Linked DNA regions of Homo sapiens: regions 2 and 3 are each linked to region 1. Evidence: promoter capture Hi-C in 16 types of primary human blood cells and fetal thymus (Javierre and others, 2016). All regions are on one chromosome and are shown on one strand. The core of a region is centred on a gene start or on the middle of the fragment in contact, and the rest is flanking DNA. Distances in the headings are between cores, read along the strand shown.

What was found. Contacts are between HindIII fragments. The CHiCAGO score rates a contact against its expected background, and 5 or more counts as called.
Region 2: a fragment that was not itself captured here is called in contact with the fragment with the promoter of GTF2IRD1 in region 1 in 2 of 17 cell types (activated CD4 T cells and non-activated CD4 T cells); the score reaches 6.9 in activated CD4 T cells.
Region 3: a fragment that was not itself captured here is called in contact with the fragment with the promoter of GTF2IRD1 in region 1 in 6 of 17 cell types (activated CD4 T cells, fetal thymus, endothelial precursors and 3 more); the score reaches 7.1 in activated CD4 T cells.

The regions. Positions count from the first base shown.
Region 1 is chr7:74,451,609-74,455,155 of GRCh38, reverse strand. GTF2IRD1 (GTF2I repeat domain containing 1) reads right to left here and starts at 1,250. Exons shown (of 27, transcript NM_005685.4): 1 at 980-1,250. RefSeq lists silencers at 628-697, 1,200-1,549 and an enhancer at 2,435-2,954. The HindIII fragment of the contact is 10,217 bases long and covers 1-3,547 here.
Region 2 is chr7:74,705,465-74,709,011 of GRCh38, reverse strand. GTF2I (general transcription factor IIi) reads right to left here. Exons shown (of 35, transcript NM_032999.4): 8 at 2,579-2,622. The region is part of intron 2 of GTF2I-AS1 (GTF2I antisense RNA 1); the gene reads left to right. Among named protein-coding and RNA genes, the nearest start is that of GTF2I-AS1, 22 kb to the left of the region's middle. The HindIII fragment of the contact is 6,850 bases long and covers 1-3,547 here.
Region 3 is chr7:74,634,712-74,638,258 of GRCh38, reverse strand. No RefSeq gene overlaps it. Among named protein-coding and RNA genes, the nearest start is that of GTF2I, 21 kb to the left of the region's middle. The HindIII fragment of the contact is 7,732 bases long and covers 1-3,547 here.

The DNA.
Region 1 (3,547 bases), core at 1-2,500:
GGATGGGGACACAGGAGACTCCCACCGCAGGACCTTGGTCCTGGGAGGTAGGGTCACTAGGCCAGACGCCAGAGCTCCAGCCCCCTCCAGCACTGCCAGGAGGGTGGAACGAACTCTCAGCGGCACAGCGGCCCCCTTCCCTGGGCCCACGCCAGGCGAGGCAGGGTCTCACTCCCTGGCTGCTGGCCAGGGGTGAGGAGCCCAGGAGAGGTGTCAAGCCCATCATGCCCAGGGTACTTAGGATGGGGCGGGTGGGTGTTCAGCACCCTGTGGCCCCTCCTCTGTCCTCTCCACCCATCTGCAGGAACTCAGAGACCACCCACAGACCGAGTATCCCCAACTTACTCCTCTGAACCCTTTGTGGTCCCCCCACTGCCACCTTCTGAGTCCCCTCCACCCGGGATTCAGCGGCCACCACCACACAGGCCAGCCCCCTCCCCGGGGCCGGGGCGGGGGGTCCACTACAGGAACCACCCTGCTGGGGCAATCCTGGCTGGACTGGACTCCGCCTGGGAGTTGGGGGCGCGGGCCAGGGGCTGGCCCAGACCGGGAGAAGGTGGAGGGGGGAAAGGCGGGGACCGCGGCCTTCCCAGCCCCCTCTGCTCCCACCCCGGCGCCCGCCACCGCGGGCAGCGCGACTGACCTCATTCGCCAACTGCAGCAGCCTGCGGGCGCCGGCCCGGGACGCCCCCCACCTCCAGAAGAGCCGGTGGCAAGGAGGGAGGGGGTGACAGCTCCCAGCTCCCGGCCCCTCCCGGGCAGGTGGGGGGCGGCCGTCCCTCCCCTCCCCCCGGGCCCGAATTATAATCCCAGTCACGTGCCTCCCCGGGCACCCAAAAGCCGGCCCCAGCTCCTGTAACACCTTGAGAGGGGGAGGGGCGGGGACCCCCCCCCCCGGAGGCGGAGGGGATCGGGGGCGGGGGTGGGGGAGAAGGGGAGAAGGGCCTCGGTGCCCGCCCCCCGCAAAAGTTTCTCCTACCTTGGAGGATCCCCAAGCGCTCCTGCCAGCGGCGCCCCGGCCCCGGCCCGCGGCCAGGACTCAGCCTCCTGCCGCTGCCTCCTTAATTAATCCGGGAGAATGGGGGAAGGAGAGGCAGAGGGAGGCGAGGACGGCGGCGCGGCGAGGGCGGGGAGGGAGGCGCGGGGAGGGGGCGCGGGGGGGGAATCGGCCGGCCGGGGGGCTGGCGCTCGGCGGCCCCCACCCCCGGCGCGGGCTGCGGCGGAGGGCGGGGCGGCGCGGGGAGAGGAGCGGAGAGCGGGAGCGCGGGGAGGCTCTTTGTTCTGTAATCCCAGTAAGATTGCCAGCCATTCGCCCCGGCCCTAATCCCAGCCCCGCGCAACACCACCCTCCATTGGCTGCCATTTACATACGGGATTAGCCCGCCCCGCGCCCCGCGCCCCTGCGCACCCCCCTTGCTACCCAGCGCCCCTGCGTCCCGGGGACCTGGGCACCGCGGTGGGGAGAGCGCGCCGCACCCCTCGGCCCCGGACCTGCGGGGAGGGGCGGTGGCGCCCTCGGTTCTCCCCCACCAGCGCCGGATTAGAAAAGCCTGGGCGCGCCCCCGTCTACCCCCACCGCTCCCCACCACCACTGGGAGAGCAGCCGGGCGCAGGGGGCTGAAGTTGGAGGGTCAAGGTCACCCAGCTGGAACGCGCGGAGGCCCTGAGTGTCCCGGCTGGTCACTCCCGCCTGGCCCGGGTTCTAGTCCTAAGGCTTGGGCCAGGTACCTCTTACTCTTACAGCCTTTGTCCCCCTCCCACCCCTGAGATGTGCAGGAAGGCAGTGACAGGCCGAAAGTCGCAGCAGAGCCAACTGGACTCTTGGTCCCATCTTGTCTGATGGGACCTCCCTCTGATAGGCTTTTACCCCTGTCCCCCCAACCAGCCCCCCCGCCCCCCGCCCGCCCCGCTCCCACCAACCACACACACACCACAGCAGCGCTCCTACTGAATCAGTGCGCACGCCTCCCATCCGGCCCCAAAGCCATAAATCCTAATTCAGCACAAGGAACACAGTCCTTCCCCCACGTGGTGCCCTGATCCCTGAACTAGACCTTGGCTAGACTGGGCATGGCAGGGAGGGAGGGACTCACCCCAGGCAGGCCCCAACCCCAGGGAGCTTCTGGCTTAGAAGGACAGCCAAACATAGATCGAGAATCTCCCAGGTCCTGGCAAAACCCACAAGGTCTCCCCACAGCCTCCTGGCCAAACTGCCTTTGCAAAGATTAGGACAGTGACAGAAGTTTAGCGTGGCTGACTCCATCTTGCTTCCAGCCTCACGCGCTGGCTGTCTTCACTCATTCCGGGGCATAGGCCAAGCTAACCGGGGGAGGAATTTAGTTTATAGTTCAACTTTGAAACAAGGATGATAATAGTTACTCCTTAAACCTAACCTGCTTTTTATACAAGAGACCAAAACCACCTTTGTAAAACTAACGAAAGGCCGTGAGATTAGGATTATGGGAGGGGCCTGGACGCTGCTAAAACCTACGCATCGTTTTTATAATCTGACTGCTCAGGAGTCATGTGGCGAGAGATCACAAGATTTGTGAGTTCCCCACTTCCTCCTATAGATAGCATCTCTATTGTGGAAACTGAGATTGGTCTTTGGAGATGTTTTTCAGACTTTCGCATTCGGGCAACCGACTGACTCACCTGGACCTGTGTGACTCATGACTCAGCCCATCCTGTGGCCCCCACTCAGAGACCGACTCAGTGCATAAGGACCGTTTGCCACACCCCTGTGATTTCATCTCCAACCAATCAGCAGTACCCATTCCCTGGGCCCTTGCCCACCAAATTATCCATAAAAACCCTAGCCTCTGAGTTCTTGGGGAGATTTATTTGAGTAATAACTCCAGTCCTACTGCTTGGCTAGCTCTGCATTAATAAGACGCTTTTGGCTGGGCTCAGTGGCTCATGCCTGTAATCCCAGCACTTTGGGAGGCGAAGGTGGGTGGATTGCTTGAGGTCAGGAGTTCAAGACCAGCATGGCCAACACAGCGAAACCTGGTCACTAAAAATACAAAAATTAGCCGGGTGTGGTGGTGCATGCCTGTAATCCCAGCTACTCAGAAGGCTGACGCATGAGAATCACTGGAACCCAGGAGGTGGAGGCTGCAGTGAGCCAAGATTCAGCCACTGCACTCCAGCCTGGGTGACAGAGTGAGACTGTGTTTCAAAAATTAGGCCAGGCACGGTGGCTCATGCCTGTAATCCTAACACTTTGGGAGGCCGAGGCAGGTGGATCACTTGAGGTCAGGCATTCAAGATCAGCCTGGCCAACATGGTGAAACCCTGTCTCTACTAAAAACACAAAAATTAGCCGGGCGTGGTGGCAGGCACCTGTGATCCCAGCTGCTTAGGAGGCTGAGGCATAAGAATCGCTTGAACCTGGGAGGCGGAGGTTGCAGTGAGCCAAGATCGCACCACTGCACTCCAGCCTGGGCGACAGAGTAAGACTGTCTAAAAAATTTTAAAAATTAAGAAACATAAAACTATTTCTCGCTGTAATACCATGGTCTCAGTGAATTCTTCCTGTGCAGCG
Region 2 (3,547 bases), core at 650-3,149, 250 kb before region 1:
GAGCAGGTAACATAGCTCGCGACTGGATTTTCAGTCAGTCTCCCAGCGATGGGTGTGACTGCTGGAACACTGTGTCCCCCCATTTTGAGGAGAGAGTAAAAATGGATTTCTTTGTAGGAAGTAAAGTTGCATCTCTTTAGATGGAACAGTTGTCTCGTTGTTGTACAGAAGGTCAAATGTGCAGGGAAGGGTGTGTATATATGCTGAGCAGCCAAAGAGAACAGCCTGGGCCACCCACAAAACTGATGTCTCTCAGTTGCAAACCCATCCTCTGGGTTTCTGCTGAAGTTTGAGCTCTGCATAGCAGCTGGCTCCATGTGAGTCTCTGCCACAAAGATACACTACAGAGAGAAAGGCTAGAGGAGGAGAAGAGATCTGGGCCTTCCTTTTGGCTTCTTGTCTGCATTCTCATCCCAAAAAGGTCACTCCTTGGTACCCTCGTTCAGCCTGGCCAAAGCAGGCCCTCCCATCACAACAGCTGTGCCCGGCTGGCAATGTCTCCAACACTACCAGAAGCAGCCTCACCATGCCCCTCAGCCACCAGCACCAGCCAAACACTACCCCACCTCAGAAGTCAGATGGAAAGCTGATGGGGTGGCAGCCACTGCCTAGAATTGTTCCTTAAAAAAAACCTTAGTATTCTCCTTAAGGTTACAAAGTTAACAATTTTATAACCAGTTAACAATCTGTTTTTGTTTGTTTTGTTTTGAGATGGAGTTTCACTCTTGTTGCCCAGGCTGGAGTGCAATGGCACGATCTTGACTCAATGTAACCTCTACCTCCTGAGTTCAAACGATTCTCCTCCCTCAGCCTCTTGAGTAGCTGGGATTACAGGCGCCCACCACCATGCCCTGCTAATTTTTTTTGTATTTTTAGTAGAGACTGGGTTTCACCATGTTGGCCAGGCCGGTCTCCAACTCCTGACCTCAGGTGATCCACTCGCCTCAGCCTCCCAAAGTGCTGGGATTACAGGTGTGAGCCACTGCACCCGGCCAACAATCTTTACATTAAATTTTCTCTGTTCCAATAACTGATATGGTTTCTGTCTCCTGGCTGCACCCTGGCTATAAATGTACATCTTATTTGCAGGATAAATTAAGAATACAAAGATGCAAAGTGTAAAAGAGAAAAAAAAAAACCTATAATGATGCTGATGTGTACATAAAGACAGTTGAAAGAATTCAATTAAACACATGGGGTTTCTGAATTCAGCATGTTTCTTTTTAGAAGCAAACTAAATATTCAGGAGATGAATATATGAATTAAGGGGAAACATTTGCAAAATGATGATTTTTTTTGGCACAATCTACTGAAAACCACACAAAAATTTGAGATTTCCTATGGAGTGAAAATAAAGAAAAAAGAAAAACCTTCTGTAAAACCAGCAAACAGTGTAAAAGACTCAAATACCTTTTCCAAAAAAGGATAATTCAACACTTTCTTGCAGCTCTCCCAAAATACACTTACATACATAAAAGCTCTCATTCACATGCACGCACACACACGTTAACGCGGCCCTACCCTCCTCCCCAACAACTCATTCGAGATGCCCTTAGATGGGGTGAAGCGGGGCAGGTGGCTGCCCAGGAAGCATGGCAGAATGAGAAGGCTGACAAAGGGCCGGGGAAGGGGCTGGGGAAGCTGCCGAGGGCCTGGTCAGACAGAGGGAGATGAGGGGGCAGGCAGGGCGGTGACAGCCCACTAAGGAGTGTCCCGTGTGAATAAGGGGCACAGGGCCGAGCAGCGGGAGGCTTGACAGTGGCACTAGGACACAGGATAACACTGGGAAATGATGAAATAAATACATATGCTGAGAACATCTGGGTGCCACGGTTCTAGGACAGAACAGAATTATAAACGGGGGCCGGGCACGGTGGCTTATGCCTGTAATCCTAGGACTTTGGAAGGCTGAGGCAGGAGGATCACTTGAGGTCAGGAGTTCAAGACCAGCCAGGCCAACCTGGCGAAACCCCGTCGCTACTAAAAATACAAAAATTAGTCGTGCGTGATGGCGTATGCCTGTAATCCCAGCTACTCGGGAGGCTGAGGTGGGAGAATCGCTTGAACCCAGAGGCAGAGGTTGCAGTGAGCCGAGGTCGTGCCACTGCACTTCAGTCTGGGTGACAAAGCAAGACTCCATCTCAAAAAATAAATAAATAAATAAGGAATTAAATAGCAATTTTATTTGAGAATTGAAAATGGTCTCCTTGGAGAGTGGAAAACAGGAGTGCAGAGAAGGAAGGTGGAGACGAAGGGGGCATTCTATTGATTTTTGTAAAAAGCACTATAGAACAGCTGACCTCTTACATTATATGTCTGTACAACGGGAAAAAAAAATACATTTTATCTACAAACATATGTAACTGGCAAAGAACTCTGCCTACCACTTACTGAGCAAATTACCTTTCTGGGTCTTAATGTGATAACATTAACAAATAGTGTCACAGTTGGAATACATTAGTAGTGACTGCCTCTTTCTTATCAAAACAAAACAATAATTGAGTCAAACTATAAACTTCTACACTAAGGAAAAGTCTTCCTTAATTTCACCATTGATTCTAAAAGTGCTAGTACATACCAGAATCTTCTGTGGGTTCAGTTTTCACTTTGATGGGGCCACAACTGCAAGGAGAAGAAAGCCCTGATCAAGCCACGTGCTGGTGACAGCCATTCCCACAGCATTCAAAGTCTCTGGGTCTCAAAGTGTTAAGATCCCTCCCTTGACCAAGGTGGGTGCAAACCTGACTCAGCTTAAAACTGACATATTTATTTATTGCATAAATAAGAGTTATTGGGCCGGGCACAGTGGCTCACGCCTGTAATCCCAACACATTGGGAGGCCGAGGCGGGCAGATCACGAGGTCAGGAGTTCAAGACCAGCCTGGCCAATATGGTGAAACCTCATCTCTACTAAAAATACAAAAATTAGCCAGGCGTGGTGGCGCTCACCTGAATCACTTGAATCCGGGAGGTGGAGGTTGCAGTGAGCTGAGATCATGCCACTGAACTCCAGCCTGAGCCACAGAGGGAGACTCTGTCTCCACAAAAAAAAAGAGTTATCAACTGAACTTAGTACTTCAATTTCTATCTATCTTTTGGGGAAAAAAGTACAATAAAATACTACAGAGTAGCATATTAAGACTTATCGGGCCAGGCGTGGTGGCTCATGCCTGTAATCCCAGTACTTTGGGAGGCCGAGGCAGGTGGATCACCCGAGGTCAGGAGTTCGAGACCAGCCTGGCCAACACGGTGAAACCCCGTCTCTACTAAAAATACAAAAAAATTAGCTGGGCATGGTGGCACATGCTTGTAGTCCCTGCTATTTGGGAGGCTGAGGCAGGAGAATCGCTTGAACCCAGCAGGGGGTCAGAGGTTGCAGTGAGCCGAGATCGCGCCACTTCACTCTAGCATGGGCAAAAAGAGCAAAACTCCATCTCAAAAATAAAAAAAAAAAAAAAGAGTTACCAACTGAACTTAGTACTTTAATTTCTATCTATCTTTTGGGGAAAACAGTATAATAAAATACTACAGAATAGCATATTAACTT
Region 3 (3,547 bases), core at 518-3,017, 180 kb before region 1:
ACGTTGCAGTGGGCTGAGATCACACCACTGCACTCCAGCCTGGGTGACAGAGACCCTGTCTCAAAAAAGAATAAAAAATAAAAGATAATAACATAATAAAATAAAATAGAGAGACACAGCTGTGACTATTAGCCCACCAAAAAAGTACAAATCCATTGGCCCAATGAATCTTAGATCCATAGCTGGCCATCTATGAGATACGCTAAGGTGTCCTAGATTAGGACCCTCCAGAGCGGACGTGGAATGGGACGGGATAGGCACCTGCCGCACATACTGCGTGATCACCCAGACAGCAGTGGAGAGGAAAGGCAGCTTGTATTCACTCATTCATTCATTCATTCATTCATGTTTCCATCCAAAAAGCCCACTGTTTGTGAGTCTTCCTCTTATATAAGCTCACTAAGGGCGGGGACCAAGCCTCATTCATTGGCCTGGGGCATGCCTAGTGTGGAGCAAGTATTTGGTGTTTGTTGACTGAATGACTGAAGGTGAAGGGGACTTGAGTTGCCCAGGCACAGTGGCTCACACTTGTAATCTCAGCCCTTTAGGAAGCCAAGGCAGGAGGATCACTCGAGGTCAGGAATTTGACACCAGCCCAGGCGACATAGGGAGACCCCATCTCTACAAAAAAGAAAAATTTGGCCGGGCGCGGTGGCTCACGCCTGTAATCTCAGCACTTTGGGAGGCCGAGGCGGGCGGATCACGAGGTCAGGAGATTGAGACCATCCCGGCTAAAAAACGGTGAAACCCCGTCTCTACTAAAAATACAAAAAATTAGCCAGGTGTAGTGGCGGGCGCCTGTAGTCCCAGCTACTTGGGAGGCTGAGGCAGGAGAATGGCGTGAACCCGGGAGGCGGAGCTTGCAGTGAGCCGAGATCCCGCCACTGCACTCCAGCCTGGGCGACAGAGCGAGACTCCGTCTCAAAAAAAAAAAGAAAAAGAAAAATTTTAAAAATTAGCTGGTCCCGGTAGCTCATGCCTGTAATCCCCACATTTTGGGAGGCTGAGGTGGGAGGACTGCTTGAGCCCAGGAGTTTGAGATCAGCCTGGGCCACATAGGGAGACCCTCTGTCTGCAAAAAATAAATTTTTAAGTTAGCTGGGTTTGGAGACACACACCCGTGGCCCCAGCTACTCAGGAGGCTGAAGTGAGAGGATTGCTTGAGTGCAGGAGCTCGAGGCTGCTGTGAGCTATGATCACACCATCACACTCCAGCCTGGGCAACAGGCTGTCTCTAAATAAATTCCGTCAATAAATAAATAAATAAATAAATAAATAAACAAAGCGTGTAAAGGGCTGACACCATTGCTTGACAAGGATGCAAGGAATGTTTTATTGCTGTGTTTTAGGGAATGTGTTAGGTGCTTTGGGGATGCAGAGATAAAAATGGTACCATCTGTGACCTCAAGAAGTTTACGGACTTGTGGGAGGACAGCGTTGTGAACAGGTTATAATACAATCTGACTATGGCATCTGTAATAAGAGCCCAGAGGCCGGGCATGGTGGCTCCTGCCTGGAATACCAGCACTTTGAGAAGCTGAAGTGGGCAGATCACCTAAGATCAGGAGTTTGAGACCAGCCTGGCCAACATGGTGAAACTACGTCTCTACTAAAAACACAAAAATTAGCTGGGCGTGGTAGTGGGCACCTGTAGTCTCAGCTACTTGGGAGGCTGAGACAGGAGAATCGCTTGAACCTGGGAGACAGAGGTTGCACTGAGCCGAGATCACGCCACTGCACTCCAGCCTCGGAGACAGAGTGAGACTCTGTCTCAAAAAAAAAAAGAAAAAGAAATAGTTTACAGACTTGTTGGGGGACAGAGTTGTAAACAGGTCATAATATAGTCTGACTAGGGCACCTGTCATAAGATCCCAAAGGCCGGGCATGGTGACTCATCGCTGTAATGCCAACACTTTGGGAGACCAAGGTAGGCGGATCCCTTGACGTCAGGAGTTTGAGACCAGCCTGGCCAACATGGTGAAACCCCGTCTCTACTAAAACTACAACAATTAGCCGGGTGTGTTGGCACATGCCTATAGTCCCAGCTACTCAGGAGGCTGAGGCAAGAGAATCACTTGAACCCGGGAGGCGGAGGTTGCAGTGAGCCGAGATTGTGCCACTGCACTCCAGCCTGGGCTACAGAGTGAGATTCTGTCTCAAAAAAAAAAGAGCCCAGAGGAGGTGGGGAGTGGGGGCATTTGAACAATGCATAGAACTTTCCTGGTGAAGAAGGTGGAGGGTAGGGGGTAAGGAGGCAAAGAGAAGGGCTTGTGCAGAGATCTACTGTGTCAAGGTGCACAGGGTGCAGAGGGAATGGCACACAGCCAGCGCTGGCCGGGGCGCAGGGGAAGATGCAGCTCTGTCTGAAGAGTCTGTGGTCTGATCACAATGGGCCCTCTGTGCCAGTTGACTGGTTTGTGCTGAACACGTTGGCCAAGATGCCTGTCATTCCAGCCTCCGCTTCCAGGCGAAATTACACCACCCACTCAGGGAAGCTGGACTAAGCTGCTGCTGCTTTTTTTTTTTTTTAACAACTTTATTCAAGTATTTTATTTACACAGAATAAAATGCATTCGTTTTTATGTGTTTACTTAAAGGAGCCTTAGCAAATATTTTCACTCACCCGTGTCACCCCCACCATAATCAAGATACAGGGCTGGGTGCGGTGGCTCATGCCTGTAATCCCAGCACTTTGGGAGGCCGAGGCAGGCAGATCATCTGAGGTCAGGAGTTTGAGCCCAGCCTGGCCAACATGGTGAAACCCTGTCTCTACTAAAAATACAAAAATTAGCCGGGCGTGCTGGCGCATGCCGTGCCTGAAATCCCAGCTACTCCGGAGGCTGAGGCAGGAGAATGGCTTGAACCCAGGAGGTGGAGGTCGCAGTAAGCCGAGATCACAACACTGCACTCCAGCCTGGGCGACAGAGCAAGACTCCGTCAAAAAAAAATATATGCAACACTTCCATTGCTCTAGAAAGTTTCCTGTGCCCCTCTTCATTAGTTAATTTTCTTCACCACCCACCACCCCAGGCCCTGGCAATCACTGACCTGCTTGCCTGCTTACTTTCTTCTTTTTTTTCTTTTTTAGACAGGGTATTGCTCTGCAGCCCAGGCTGGAGCGTAGTGGCAAGATGTCAGCTCACTGCAACCCTGACATCCCTAGCTCAAGTGATCCTCCCACCTCAGCCTACTGAGTAGCTGGGACTATTTTTTTTTTTTTTTTTGAGATGGAGTCTCACTCTGTTGCCCAGGCTGGAGTGCAGTGGCACGATCTCGGCTCACTGCAAGCTCCGCCTCCCAGGTTCATGCCATTCTCCTGCCTCAGCCTCCCGAGTAGCTGGGACTACAGGTGCCCATCACCACACCCGGCTAATTTTTTGTATTTTTAGTAGAGACGGGGTTTCACCATGTTAGCCAGGATGGTCTCGATCTCCTGACCTCATGATCTACCCGCCTCGGCCTCCCGAAGTGCTGGGATTACAGGTGTGAGCCACCGCGCCCAGCCAATTTTTTGTATTTGAGAGTCAGGAGTTCAAGACCAGCCTGG